3 separate regions of the Homo sapiens genome follow, and regions 1 and 2 are each linked to region 3. The links are contacts of gene promoters, found by promoter capture Hi-C in blood cells and fetal thymus (Javierre and others, 2016). All regions are on one chromosome and are shown on one strand. Each heading gives the region's core, a stretch centred on a gene start or on the middle of the fragment in contact. The rest is flanking DNA. Distances are from core to core; before and after follow the strand shown. Region 1 has its middle 25 kb from the start of TREML4. Region 2 holds the start of TREML4 (triggering receptor expressed on myeloid cells like 4). Region 3 holds the start of UNC5CL (unc-5 family C-terminal like).

Region 1 (4,368 bases), core at 1,059-3,558, 210 kb after region 3:
ACATTTTTGCTGCTACTAACAGGACTCCTCCATTTATTTGGAATGAGTTTAAAGTTTCCCCATGCTTGAGCACAAAGGGCTTAATGGTCCATTCCAGACATCCCTACCCTTGACTCTAACTGCCAGCATCTTCTCAAAGGGCTGTAGTCAAGAAAGATCACTGAGTAATGGGGTGGGGGGATAAATGTGACATAGGAGATAGCCAAACAATGAGGCTGACATGAGACTTAGGGGGTGAGGCTGGGAGGTGTAGTAGCCAGGGGCTCAGGGGACCTGGATCCTCTCCCTGGACCTGCCCTTATCAGTTGAGAGTCATTAAGCTTCAAAATGAGAAGCTAGGGGTCACCACTAATCCTAAGGCCCCTGGGCATTCCCCCTGAAATTAGAGTTGCCAAGCTCTCCTGCCTTTTTCTGTGATGGTTAGAAACAGTGGTGCTTTTTCCCTGCTGCTGAGTGTGCCCAGCCACTTGGTCAAATGGGCATCTGGAGGACCCCAATAAGCTTCTCTTTCTTCACTGCCCAAGCTTTGGCTCACTGCCCATTCCCTGGAGGGCACAGGGCTAAGCTAGGCCCTGGATGGGGACTCAAAAGCCTTGAGATCCCATCCGGAGCTGGAGGAGCCCACAGTTGGGCCAGAGAAACAGCATGTGATGAAGGGTTATGACGTAAGGTGGTAGGTGGCATTAGAGAAATATGGTGGACGGAAGAATAATGAAAGACAGAAAGGAGGGAGAAGGTTTAAATTCCTAGCACCAGGGGAATTCTAAGCTTGAGGAAAACAAGGTGCATATGGAATACATTAATAAAAGATAACTTATAAGGCAATATGCCACAGGCATAGGTGAATGCAAGGTAGAATGAATGATATAAAGTAAAATAATCAAGGATTTATTCTTGAAGTTGGGGACATATGGATTGGTGAAGAATAGCAGGCAAGTGCAGTTCCAATAAAGTGAATAGCCTGAATATTTCTTTTTTCTTCCTTCTTTCTGCCTTTCCTCCCTCCCTCCTTTCCTCCTTTCCTTCTTCCTGACTCTAACCTAGGCTGATCACACAGTATTCTTAGGTTATAGCAAAAGAAAACCCTGCTTCTTGGCCATGTCCATTTCCTTCCTTAGCTCCATTTACCCTAACACCTACCCATTCACCCACTCATCCATCTTTTCATCTACTTATTCTTCCTACATCCTGTCCATTCCTCCACTCATCCATCTATTTATCCACCTACCCATCCACTCACTTCCAAATAGTTTATCCGTTAAATCACCCACTTATCCATCCATCCATTCATCCAATGTTCTTTTCACAGGTCTCTTAGGTACCCCTGCCTCCAATGTTAATCCTACCCAGAACATGCCTCAGATTCCCACAGTTCTTCCTACCACCACTAAGGCCCTGAGCCCACTGTATGCCAGCCCAAGAACCATGACCCAGCCTTCACCCAAGTCAACTGCTGATGTCTCCACTCCTGGCCCACAGTCAACAATAAAAATGTGACAAATGTCATCAACTATGATTTCCCAGCCTCTGAGCCCCGGGTTTGGACATCAAGCTCTTTGTTCCCCAGTTCGTGTGCTGAGAGGATGTGGGAGTGAGGGAAAGGGGAAGGTGGGGCAGGAGCAGACTTGAGTCACATTAGTCTGGGTAGAAATGTCCAGGGGAAGAAGGAGGTGGTGATGGAGAATAGGGGAGGCTCTCAGCCAGGCTGTCATTCTCCCTAGTTCACCTTCCTTGTTTTCTTGCAACCTGAGTATTAAGGAGAGGGAAATGGCATCCTCCCCAAATTCCAATGGAGCTCATCCAACCCCAGGGGCCTGATGAGTAGTGGGAACGCACTCTGAATGAGGGACCCTGGATCTAGTATCTACCTGACTAACTGACTGTGACTTTGGGTGAGTCAGGAACCCTCTCTGGCTTTAGCTTCCTTGTCAATTCAGTAGGCATGCTAGAAACCCAGAGCTGGAAGACATTGTTCACCCAACAGCTCTCAGCAGGAGCCACATGTTAGGGCTAAATGCAATATTGGTTTTTGCCTTGTTTGGTTAGTTTTAAAAAAAAAATACTGATGTGTGTGTTCTCATACACAGACCAATAGAATCAGAATTTCTGGAAATGAAGCCCATCTCAGTATTTTTTTATAAATACTTCAGAAAGAAACTCAGAGAGGAAAGGACAAACAGGCTGAGGAATGAGAAAGAATAAAACTCTTTCTTTTGAAATAAAAAAAAAATTTATGCGATTTTTTTCCCTTTAAGAGGAAAATCTGCTTTAATTAAATGGAAACAATGATCCAAGCTACTTAAGTATAAAAGCACATTGTACTATAAAATGTTTAATCTGTATTAATAAGAAGCTAAATTTATAACAAGGAGCTGAATGCTTTTTAGTTGACTATGTTGAGGCAAAAGTCTATAAAACAGCATTTCCTACAATGGTGGAATGTTCTCTCTCCCTGTCCAACATGGGTAGCCACTAGCCATGCGTGGTAATTGAGCATCTGACCTGAGACAAATGAGAGTGAAGGACTGAATTTCTATTTATCATTTAATTTTTGTTAATTTAAATGTAAATAGCCACCTTGACAAAATTTTGGGAGTGTTTTAAGGCAAGATTAGGACTTATTGAGAAGTTTGATTTAAGGTAGGTCTTTCAAAGCAGGGGCTGGGCTATGATTAAGTAAGGATCACGATCAAACAGTCCTGGATTGGTAGAAACAATAGGATGAGGATTTTGAAGTGGGGGATTCAAAGAATCTTATGTTGCCAACTACCTCTTAGGGCTTTCCATGAAAGAGTTGATGAATCTTTCAGGAATTTCCTATAATGAACAAGCAAACCATTTTCCCAGACAAGAAAACTCCTGGTAAAGTAGTATTCACAAAGACAGAGGAATAGCAAAGTCATGTTAATGTAGACAGCAAGGTGTGATTTCAGTTCTCAGTGTCAAGACTGAATGTGGGTATGGATGGTTTCTATTCCCAATAAAAAAATTATTTTTCTAACAAAATATACTGTGGACAAAAGCAACATAGGGGAACAGCTCCATGATATTGTCTTGACAACCTTGCATATGCCACATAGGTCACACTGGCAGACACATGAACTACAGCTAATTTGAAGCATGGCAGAATGCCTGCAACCCTCCTAGAACATAAAAGGATGGAGGCTTGTGAGAACCATGGCCCAGTAACTTCTCTGTCTCCCCTGAAAGACAGTTCCTCATGCCCTCCTGAGTTCTGATGAGGCCAGAGGCTCTGTCCCAGACCTCAGAATAGGGCTGCAGGTTATGAAACCACTTATCTGCCTCTAGAGTAGATTCCTCAGCAGTGGAATGTCCCACAACTCATATTGCAGTTGTCTGGCCCCTTTTGTTTTGGGGTGTGGGACAAGAGCCATGAGGAGCTGGCACCTTTGCCTAATCTTTCCCTTGTTGTCTGTGTAAATAATAAATTGACTGAAAGTAAAAGTGGCTCATTGCTGACATTGTGCCACTGCACTCCAGCCTGGCCACAGAGCAAGACTCCTTGAAAAAAAAAAAAAGCGGCTAATTGCATTATTAGCAGTCAAATCAGTCAGGACTTGGCTTTGGCGCAGCCTTGTCTCACATGAGCTTAACAAGTGACAAATGACAGACTGAGACAAGATATTTGCAATTTCTAACATAGAATAATATCTAGTTTTTTTTCCAAGATGGCTGCCTGGAAGCATTTTAATCACACCTCATCCACTTAGAAGAACCAAATAGTGTGTAGACAATCACACTTTGAATACATTATCCAAGAGGGAACTTGAGAGTTCAACAGAAAAGCAAAAGAAAAGTCCAAAATCAAGGAAATAGAAAGAAAACAGGAAGCTTGTGTAGTTGGGACCAGCTGGGAACCAGAACAGACCCTCCCAAATGGGAGAGAGTGAGTGAGAGTCTTTCTGTGATCCACTTTCCCACTGGGGAATCATACAATCCAGGACATGGGAGTGCAACTTGACTCTCCAATCCCTGAATCTAACTTACAGAGCAGCTGGGAGACTGTGAGAAGAAACTTCCCCATGGAGGTAGCATGCCCTGGGTTTCACACCCTTCCTGAGACCTAAGAAACTGCCATTCTTGATCCTTGCTCTTAAAAAATTGTGTGTGGTCCTAGGAACCAGTGATGGCAGTCTTAGGCATTAAGGAAACTCAGGCTGCAACTTGCAGAACCAGGGCTTCAGTGAGGAATAGGTTCCCACAACCAGGACTAAGAAGTAAGCATAGTGTGGACTTCAGCTTCAATGCTGGAACAGGGTACACCTCCTCCCCAAAACCTGAGCAGGATGAGATTTGCCTCAGTGACTTGGTTGAGCTGGGCAGGGGTTCCTATAGCCCAGGGCTAAG
Region 2 (4,768 bases), core at 2,029-4,528, 190 kb after region 3:
AAAGGAATCAGAAATGATCTTGTAGACCTTTTACTATAGAAAGACCCATGAAAAAGAGGTGGCAGCCACTCATAGTGGCTCACACCTGTAATTCTAGCACTCTGGGAGGCTAAGCTGGGTGGATCTCTTGAGTCCAGGAGTTCAAGACAAGCCTGGCCAACATGGTGAAACGTTGTCTCTATGAAAAGCAATAATAATAATAATAACAAGGTGCATTGGTGTGTGCCCACACTCCCAGCTACTCAGGAGGCTGAGGTGGGAGGATCACTTGAGCCCTGGGAGGTCAAGGCTGCAATGAGCCATGATCACACCACTGCACTGCAACCTGGGCGAAAGTGTAAAACTCCATCTCAAGAAAAGAAAAAGAGAGACAGAAGAAGAAAAAAGAAAGAAAGAAAGAAAGAAAAGAAAAGAAAAAAGAAGGAAGGAAGGAAGGAGAAAGAAAAAGAGAGAGAAGGAAAGAAGGAAGGAAGGAAGGAAGGAAGGGAAGAAAGAAAGAGGTGGCAATGAATATATAGTGAGTTCACAGTGTCTACCTGAATACTCTCAGCCAAAACTGAGATCACAATAGTTAAAATTTATAAGTTTTGTTGTTTCTTTTGCTGTCAATGAAAGTCAAATATGACTAAGTGAAAAATAAACATATAGTATTTGCTTTGTTATGTCAAATAAACGCTATTTGTAAAAATATAGTATTTGCCTTGTTACACCAAATAAACCCTATTCTGTAGTATAAACGTTATAGTAACAAATTTTCATTTACAGCAATCAGTACATCGGACACTATGTGTGACATATCACACTGAAGGCATCAAATGATACAGATGCAGAGAATAAATTCCTATTTTCCTCTTCCAGAATTTATCATACTTTTCTTAGAAACTTCAGTGTGTTTAAGAAAATGACTCTTATTACCATCAAGTGTTAGTAGGTGCTTTACACCTAGCCGTACTAAGATTTCTTAAAACTTTGCTGTTTGTTATGTACACGCTGTTTGTTATGTATCAAGTGATTATTCATATGCTTTGTGTAAATCGTTTCTATACATATTAAAACTAATCTTTTACACTTAGAATGCTTTCAGATTCACAGAAGAGTTGTGTAGGTATTGCATACTTCCCTGATGTGCTATGTTCAATGTCTTCTATTATTAATATAGTCCAATAGTATGCTACATTTCTCACAATTAATGAGTTGATATTGATACATTACTATAATTTTACAAAATTGATGAGTAGAACTCATATATTTATAATGCGTGGTAGGATAGTTTGATGTGTGTATTAACTGTGAAATTACTAAATCAAGCAATACCACATATACTTACTTGTTTTGTGGTGAGAACATTTAAAATCTATTTTCTGTCATTTTCAATTGTACAATTCATAGTTATGAACTGCACTCACCATACTGTGCAATAGATCTCTTGAACTTATTTTTTCTGTCTAACATATTGTGTTTCTTCAACAATACCTACCCAGTTTGTCCAATTCCCAGCCTCTGGTAATGCCATTCTACTCTGTTTCTGTGGTAGATTTTATTAATTGAAGTCCTTACTTCATTCAGATTACCCTGGCTTTTACCTCATGTACTTTCTGTGCTCCAGGATCCCACCTAGGAAGCCACATTGCTTTTAGTCTTCATGTCTGCTTAGGCTCCTCTTATTCATAGCAGTTTCTGAGAATTATTTCTTAGTTTTGATGGCCTTGACAGTTTTGAGGAACGCTGCTCAGGTATTTTGTAGAATGTCCCTCATGTGGAATTTGTTTGATGTTTTTCTCCTGGGGCCAGCGGCTTTGGGGAAGGAGACTGCACAGCTAATTGCCCTGTCATCACATCAAGTCAATGACACATTCTAACAACCTGAGTTATCCCTGTGGGTCTGCACTTTGGTTGCCTGGCTGCCACAGTAAGTGTCAGGTTTCTCCACTGTACAGTTACTCTTCTCTTCCTTCCCATGCTATCCTCTGGAGGAAAGTCACCTGCACAGCCCATGCTTAAGCCGTGGGAATTTATGCTTCTGCCTTGAGGGCAGAATACCTATAAGAATTGTTTGCAATCTCTCTCAGTCCCTTCAGGCTGCTATGAGAAGATGCCTTAGACTGGAGACTTTCTAAATAATAGAAATCTCTTTCTCAAAGTTCTGGAGTCTGGGAAGTCAAAGATCAAGGTGTCAGTGGATGTGGTATCTGCTGAGGGCTGCTCTCTGCTTCCAAGGTGGTGCTTTCTTGCAGTAACCTCAGTTGACTGAAGGCATGAACACTGTCCTCATATGGCAGACAGCGCAAATCTGCTTCCTGCAATCTCTGGTATAAGGGCATTAATTGCATTCTTGAGGATGACGCCCTCATGACTTAAGATTTTCCCACAAGATCCCACCTCTTAACGCTATCACATGGAAATTAAGTTTGAATATATGAGATGGGGGAACAACATTCTGAACACAGCAGAATCCTTATGCATGGGATATTTGTCTATTCCCCCCCCCAGTTCTTTATTCAGTCATTTACTTACATCAGCATGGACTCCTAGAGATTTAATATATACATTGGGTAGTAATCCAGTACCACTTGGTTTTGTTGCTAGATAGTTCTCACTTCGGCCATTTTCTTTTTCTGTACATTTTACACACGCGTTGTTCTTTCATCCACTGATGTATTCATCCAACAAGCACTGATTGAGATGATCCCAAGCTACCATAACTGATCCACTCCTACCTGCCTTCCCCTCCAACTTTCCCTGACCAGCACTCTCTTTCCTCCCTGCTTTCCTGGCCCCACCATTTCCAGGGAACATCTTGTAATTCCTGGGATTAAAATCTGCCCTCTACAAAATGTCTCAGGGTCAAAACTCATCATCAACCCACCATGGCTAGACCAGAAGGATTCAGGGGTCTGGTCGTGCCTCCAAGGGCCCTGACCACCTATAGGAAGTGCACAGAGAGAAGGAAAGAGGGATGACCCCAGCTTTATTCACCAGCTTTATTCTTGGCCATGCTGAGAGCTGCCCCTAGCAATAGAGGAGCAGTATGACTGGCTGGAAGGCATAAAGCAGCAGACATGGGGAGAAGTTCAGTGAAAGGCGGCAGAGCAACACAGCAGGGCTGAGGTGCCCAGGCCCAGAGACAGACCCTGTAGCTGGTGGCCCCTTTCAAGGCCTGGCTGCCCCTCCTCCCCTGGTCTGCAGAGCCCGCCCTCCCAGGCCGACCATTTCCCCAGCAAGACATTGACTTCCTCAATTTTACCAGCTGAGAGACACTGGGAACCTGGGGCAGAATCAGACCCAGCGTCTGACTCCTCCTGAGAGGGCTCCCTTTTTTCTCCTCTCCTCCGCTGTCAGAAACAGATCTGGGCTGGAATGGCCTGGGGTGGGGTCCACACCTGCTGCTTCCACCTGTGCTGCTGCTGCTCCTGGCCTCAGGTGACATGGAGGGAAAGAGTGCAGGGGGTGTAAGGAGTGGGATGAAGAATGAGTGGGGCAGGGAGCAGCATGGCTGTGTGACCATAGGACAGAATTTAGGGGCCCTCTTCCATGTGTGGGCATCAGAACTAGTTCCCCCTCCCCTTCCCCAGCCTGTGATGGGGGAGGTTGGGTCCCTTCAGAGCTCTGACCTGGGTTTCTTTCTGCCGGTTCCTGGGTAAAGGGTGCTGTGCCTGAAGAACTTCACAAACACCCAGGACAGACCCTCCTCCTGCAATGCCAGTACTCACCCAAGAGAGGGCCCTATCAGCCCAAATCCTGGTGTCAGCAGACATCTCCAAGTCGGTGTACCTTACTTGTCACCAGCTCCAAGCCCTGGACAGCAGTTCAGAAGTCTCATTACACAATCTGGGACAAGCCCAATGCTGGCTTCTTCAACATCACCATGATTCAGCTGACACAGAATGACTCGGGATTCTACTGGTGTGGAATCTACAACGCTTCCGAAAACATCATCACTGTTCTTAGAAATATCAGCCTGGTGGTGTCTCCAGGTGAGCTCTTTTCTTGAGGAAATACCTCTGTGCCACCCCCCAGGGACCTGAAGGAAATGTCATGCACCCCCTCCCATGCCTCTATCATCCCCCATCCTGCCAGGTATTCTGCTGTGGTCCAAGGGGAGCAAAGATCCTGTCCCCAAACATGGACTCTCACCTCTCCTCCACCCGGTACATCCTGGCCTCAATTGTTGGGAAGGTACCCTCAGAGGTCCCTGGACAGAGACACAGTCTGTCTGTCACTCTGCGTCTCTCTTTGTCTTACACAGGCACACCCACAACTCTTCTTTTCACACACACACTAACACACACACACCAACAACTCTGTCATGCAGATCTTAGGCACAGACCACTCCTGGCTTAAGACATCCTGAGGGTCTGGCTCTGGGCCCCTACCTCCTCTTATGTATGGGGTAGACCCTACTCTCTTCTGGGCCCCTGGAGAGTCATTGTCTGCTGTCTTTTCTCTTTAGCCCCAACCACGTCTCCTATGTGGACTCTTCCCTGGCTCCCAACAAGCACAGGTAGGTTGGAGGCCTCGGTGGGGGAAGATTAGAAGGGTCACCAGGCAGCTTGGGAGCCTCAGATTCAGGGAAGGGGAAACCAGGGAGGCCTGCCTCTGAGGACTGATCTCTTGGGGCCTGGGCTTGTGGGAAGCTACCTTCAGGGCCCACTGTCTCTTAGGGAGAGAAACATGCACTATCTGATGTGATCAGAAGATCGCCATGTTCTCACGATGATGGGAGGGTGTCCCCAGAGGGAAGTCCATATGGAACACCTTGCACACGTGT
Region 3 (4,510 bases), core at 952-3,451:
CTTTTGCTCATGCTGTTTTCTGTTTCTCCACTCACTTGCTCTCCCCACTTGTTTCCTCTCCCTACGTGGATCCTCCCATTCAATAGTGCCTCCCGCTGGTGCACCGGCCTTTGACAGCCTCCAGCTCGCGAAATCTCTCTCCACAGCCATCCCACCATACTGAGTCACTCTTGATTATGTGCTGTCATGTGTGATTTTCCCACTCAAATGAACATTTTCTAAGCACCGGCTGTGTATCGGACACTGTGGGAAGTTCAATCCTGCCAAAGATGACGTCTTATTCCGCTCTCAAGGAGCTTCTGCAGGAATGGAATTCATTGGCTTGGTAGCTGAGTTCTGTGAGGCACAACGTCCTCCTTCAGAGCCCTGGGAGGCCCCTCTGGTTGACTCACTAGAGGCTGCACTGGAAGAGCTTCCAGTATCCAGTCCTCCCCACGCCCTTCACTTGCACTACCCACCTGGAACTGAGGCTTGGCCCACCTTCTTCCTTCCAACCTCAGGACCCATGAAAACTGAAGCCCCTTCCTAGTGCCTCTTAGACCAGGGCAGAACCTCCACTGTATCCTCAGGATTGAAGACTGGGGCAGTACCTGTTTCTCCCATGTCCTCACTGAAAGTGTGAATAAGAAGCGGGGGTTGGCATTGTTCTCTTTGCCTAAAGAGCCAACCCAGCAGACAATGCACCAGCCTTTTTCAACCAGGCATCCTGGAGGGCACACAGGTGAATCAGTGAATTGGCAGTGTCCCAAAGCTGATGGGAAGGGGGTTGGAGCAGCAAGCTACCGTTGATGTCCCATCATTTCTTTTGGTTCTTTCACATTAGTAATAATTATAATTCCAACTGTAATAACAATAGCTAACATTCGCAGAGCTTTACTCAATGCCACTGTGTTAAAGCACTCTCCATGGCTTGTCTCATCTCATCCTCACAGCAGCCTTAGGAGCGAGGTGTTATTTTTATCTCCATTTCACAGATAAGGAATCCGAGCTTTCTCCCCACAGTGAAGATGGATAGGGAATTACTAAACAACTGAAGACAGGCAGGAAGGAGGAGCAAAGACGAACAAGGACTTCCAGAGATACCCCCTTTCTCTCTCCACCCCTTCTTTTCCCCAAGTATCTTCCTTTCCTTCTCTAGAAGAAATAAAGTTGGAAGAGAAAGAAGCAAAAATGAAGTAAAGACAAATAGAAGGACCTAAATTTACATCCTCAGTTATGTGGTAATACCCACCCCACTACACCACACCCCCACCTACCAAGGTACCAGTGGCAGGGGATGGAATTGCTAAAGGGATGAAAGGAGGGGCCCCAGCTCGCTTACACAGCAGTAACCTTCCTGGGGCCACCAAAGACCAGAGTCCAGATCCCCAGTGAGGTGCACCTCACTGGGTGGTGCAGTAGAGTCCCCTGGCTCAACCTCCGACCCTGGAGAAGTTGGCATGCACCACTCCCAAAGCCCCACTGGGCCTCTCCCAGGGTGACTGCTCTTCCAGGCTGCCCTGGCCCTCACTGCATCCTCCCTCTGGCTCCAGAATGGGGAAAGGTCCGGAGTCTTGCTGAATGGCAACTATAGCACTGCAGCCATTCGAGTGTGACTTGGGGCATCCCAACCCCATGCCTGGACTCCTCATTACCCACTCCTCCAGTCTGTCTTGCTCCAGACCCCAGATCACCCTGGGTAGCGGGTCCCCGAAACGAGAGTCCTTTAGAATGCTGCCATCACCTGTCCCTAGGCAGTTGCATCCTCCAGCACAAAGATCCAAACTCCTGCTGCAAAGTTCTGCTCATACCCTTTAAGAAAACTCTCAACCTTTCCTCCACCTCACTGGTTCTCCCTGTGCCTCCCCAACACCTGATAGATGTCCAGTTACTGCAGAACATAACAAGTACTGGGATGGATGGTCCAAACCCAAGTCATGAATGGCATTTGTTAGTATAGTAGACATTTCCGCAGGACACAGAATCATCCCAGTGGTCCTCATACCCATTGGCCAAGTCCCATTTTCCTCCCCTCCTCCAGCAGAGGGTCCCTACACTCCAGCAGGCAGGCTAAGCTGGCCTGGCTCCTCCCCCGAAGCTCCAGGTAACCCCATCACAATGCCCATCCCCTCTCCAGCTGCCCCAAGGGGGTGCTCAACTTACCGTCTAGGAGCTCTTAGAGGCTGCTGGCTGGTCCAGTTCCTTCTCCGAGAAACAAGGGTCAGCCAGATTCAGTCGGCAGGCCAGCAGACAAGTGGAGGTGGGCGGGGAATCCAGGCAGGAGTGGCCTGGCATTTCCTGGCAGAGCCCTGCCTCCCAGCTGTCTAAAGAGGGGTGAGGGAGAGTGTCCCTGTCTATTGGCAAAGTCCAGCCCAGGTAAGGGATTAGCTGAGGATCCCAGAAGTCAGTGAACTTTCCAGTCTAGGTCTGGAAGGAAGGAGGGAGGCAGGGAGACAACCTGGGTGTAGGTGCTGCACCTTGAAACCCCTCCTTACAGTGCCCTCTGCTGGTGAGTGGCTGTCCCCAGCCAGAGGCTATTATTAAAATAGCAGATAGGAGGAGGAGGGAACCTTCATCTGAGTTTCTTAAACTATAATGTGCACAACAGTCACCTGGGAGATCTTGTTAAAATGCAGGCTCTGATTCTGTAGGTCTAGTATGGGGCCTGAGATTCTGCAGCTCAAAGAAGCTCCCAGCTGATGCCAATGCAACCGGTCCAAGGAGCTTAGAGAGCATCTAGTTCCACCCGCTCCCCACACAGAGAAGACAGTGGAGCCACTGAGACGGTTAATGACTCACCAGTTGCTGGTGGACCTGAGATGTACCCATATTTTTCCTTACACAAGGTGCTTTCTACTTCCCCCACCCAAAGTTGGCAGAGACACTGCCGGTTGGGAGACAACTGAACTTTGGGGCCATTTGCCATTCTGAGTTCTTAAAACTCTGCCTAGGAGCGGTGGCACCACAAGAATGAAAACTCCTTGTGGAACTTTTCCCATGTTTTCGGCTGTCTCCTCAGCTCCTGGTACAGCCTGATAGATAGAAGGTGTTCAATAAACATGTCTTGAATGAATGAGTGAAGCAGTTGAGAGGGAAAAGGATGCATTTTGGCTCCAACTGGCCAACACTGAGCCCAGGTGAGCCACACGTTGGGTATGTAATATTGGGCAAGCTACTTAACTCCTCTGAACCTCAATTCCCTTGTCTGTCAAATGCAGTTAAGAATATCTACCTTGTGTGAGATAATAATTGTCATTATTGAGCTAATAAATGTCAAATGCCCACCACAGAATGGGTGGTCAATAGATGGTAACCGTTGTCACCAGGGTCTGGCCTCCTGCAGTTGAGGAGGCATGGTGAACGCCCCCCCAGGCCCCTAGTTATCATCTCCCATAGAAAATAAGTAACTTCCTCTGCTTTTGTCTCAGTTAATAATTCTCTAGCCTCTTGTCTCTGACTGCAATGCCCTCCCCTCTGCTTCCTTCCCTGGTGGAGGTGAGAGGGTGGAATAAACCTCCCAGGGGAGCCCAGTACCCCAAAGTGCAGAGATGGTAGAGAGCGGGCAACCTGGGAAGCAGACCTCATGCCTAAAGACAAGCCAGGAAGGGGTGCTCAGAACTTTGATAGGGAATGAAAGGAGTGGGGTAGGGGTGTTTGTCTTTGTTGAACAAAGCTCTGTCTGAGTCACACAGGAGGCTGGACTTTGCCAACAGACAGGGACACTCTCCCCTACCCCTCTTTAGGGCGGCTGGGAGGCAGGACTTTCTGCCAGGAAGCGCCAGGTCACTCCTCCTTGACTCCCCACCCACCTCCACTTGTCAGCTGCCTTCTCCTCTGAGTCATAAAGTCCTAGGGGTTTGTGAAAGATCTGTCAAGCTAGGGTTCTAAGCCAGGAAGGTCATGCCAACCAGGAGGCTATAACCAGGGGCTGTGTTCATGGATTATGAACTCACTTCCCAAGCTAGTTCTTGCCACTCTTGGGGACAATCCCAATTATAAGGAGGCTCTGAAGAAATGTGAAGGCTCCTACCACTCACTCCCATGGCCACAGAGCTGGTTCATGGGATGCAAAGACCACAGGCATCAACAGCATTATAACTGGGGGCTGAGCTGTCACAGGAGGGCCAGTGTCAAACCCTCACCACAAGCCCTCAAACATTCCATCAAGGGGTAGCCTCCAGAGGCCAGGCACCAAGGAGGGTCTGGCAGACCAGAGGGGCTCCTCCTGAGAGGAACTCTTTGGGGCCATGAAACAGCAACTTGGACTTCCCAGCCAGTGTCACCACCCTTCTCATCTGAGAAAGGCAGATCAGCAGGGAGCACCACTCCACCCTCCTCCCAGCCCCACCCTCCTCCCAGCCCCACCCTCCTCTGCCTTCCACACATCATATGTCATCAGGCCCCCCGCCTGGGAGGTGTGCTGCCAGAGGTAAGGGGAGCACAGGCCTAGGAACCAGGAGGCACTGGGAGAGGCAGGTGTCAGGAGAAAAGAGGATGGGGGCAGGGAGGGGCAGGGAGGGGGCCTCCACCA

The links. The method cuts DNA at HindIII sites, captures the fragments that hold promoters and counts their contacts. A CHiCAGO score of 5 or more calls a contact.
Region 1: a contact is called between a fragment that was not itself captured here and the fragment with the promoter of UNC5CL in region 3, in 1 of 17 cell types (neutrophils). The highest score is 5.1, in neutrophils.
Region 2: the fragment with the promoter of TREML4 here is called in contact with the fragment with the promoter of UNC5CL in region 3 in 7 of 17 cell types (neutrophils, activated CD4 T cells, naive CD4 T cells and 4 more); the score reaches 9.9 in neutrophils.

The regions. Positions count from the first base shown.
Region 1 is chr6:41,251,389-41,255,756 of GRCh38, forward strand. No RefSeq gene overlaps it. Among named protein-coding and RNA genes, the nearest start is that of TREML4, 25 kb to the left of the region's middle. The HindIII fragment of the contact is 3,084 bases long and covers 767-3,850 here.
Region 2 is chr6:41,225,071-41,229,838 of GRCh38, forward strand. TREML4 (triggering receptor expressed on myeloid cells like 4) reads left to right here and starts at 3,279. Exons shown (of 6, transcript NM_198153.3): 1 at 3,279-3,420; 2 at 3,644-3,974; 3 at 4,451-4,501. The coding sequence starts at 3,358. It overlaps LOC105375055 (a long non-coding RNA gene), which reads left to right. Exons shown (of 3, transcript XR_926794.3): 3 at 1-758. The HindIII fragment of the contact is 15,987 bases long and covers 1-4,768 here.
Region 3 is chr6:41,037,020-41,041,529 of GRCh38, forward strand. UNC5CL (unc-5 family C-terminal like) reads right to left here and starts at 2,202. Exons shown (of 9, transcript NM_173561.3): 1 at 2,143-2,202. It also overlaps a transcript of TSPO2 not described here. The HindIII fragment of the contact is 17,483 bases long and covers 1-4,510 here.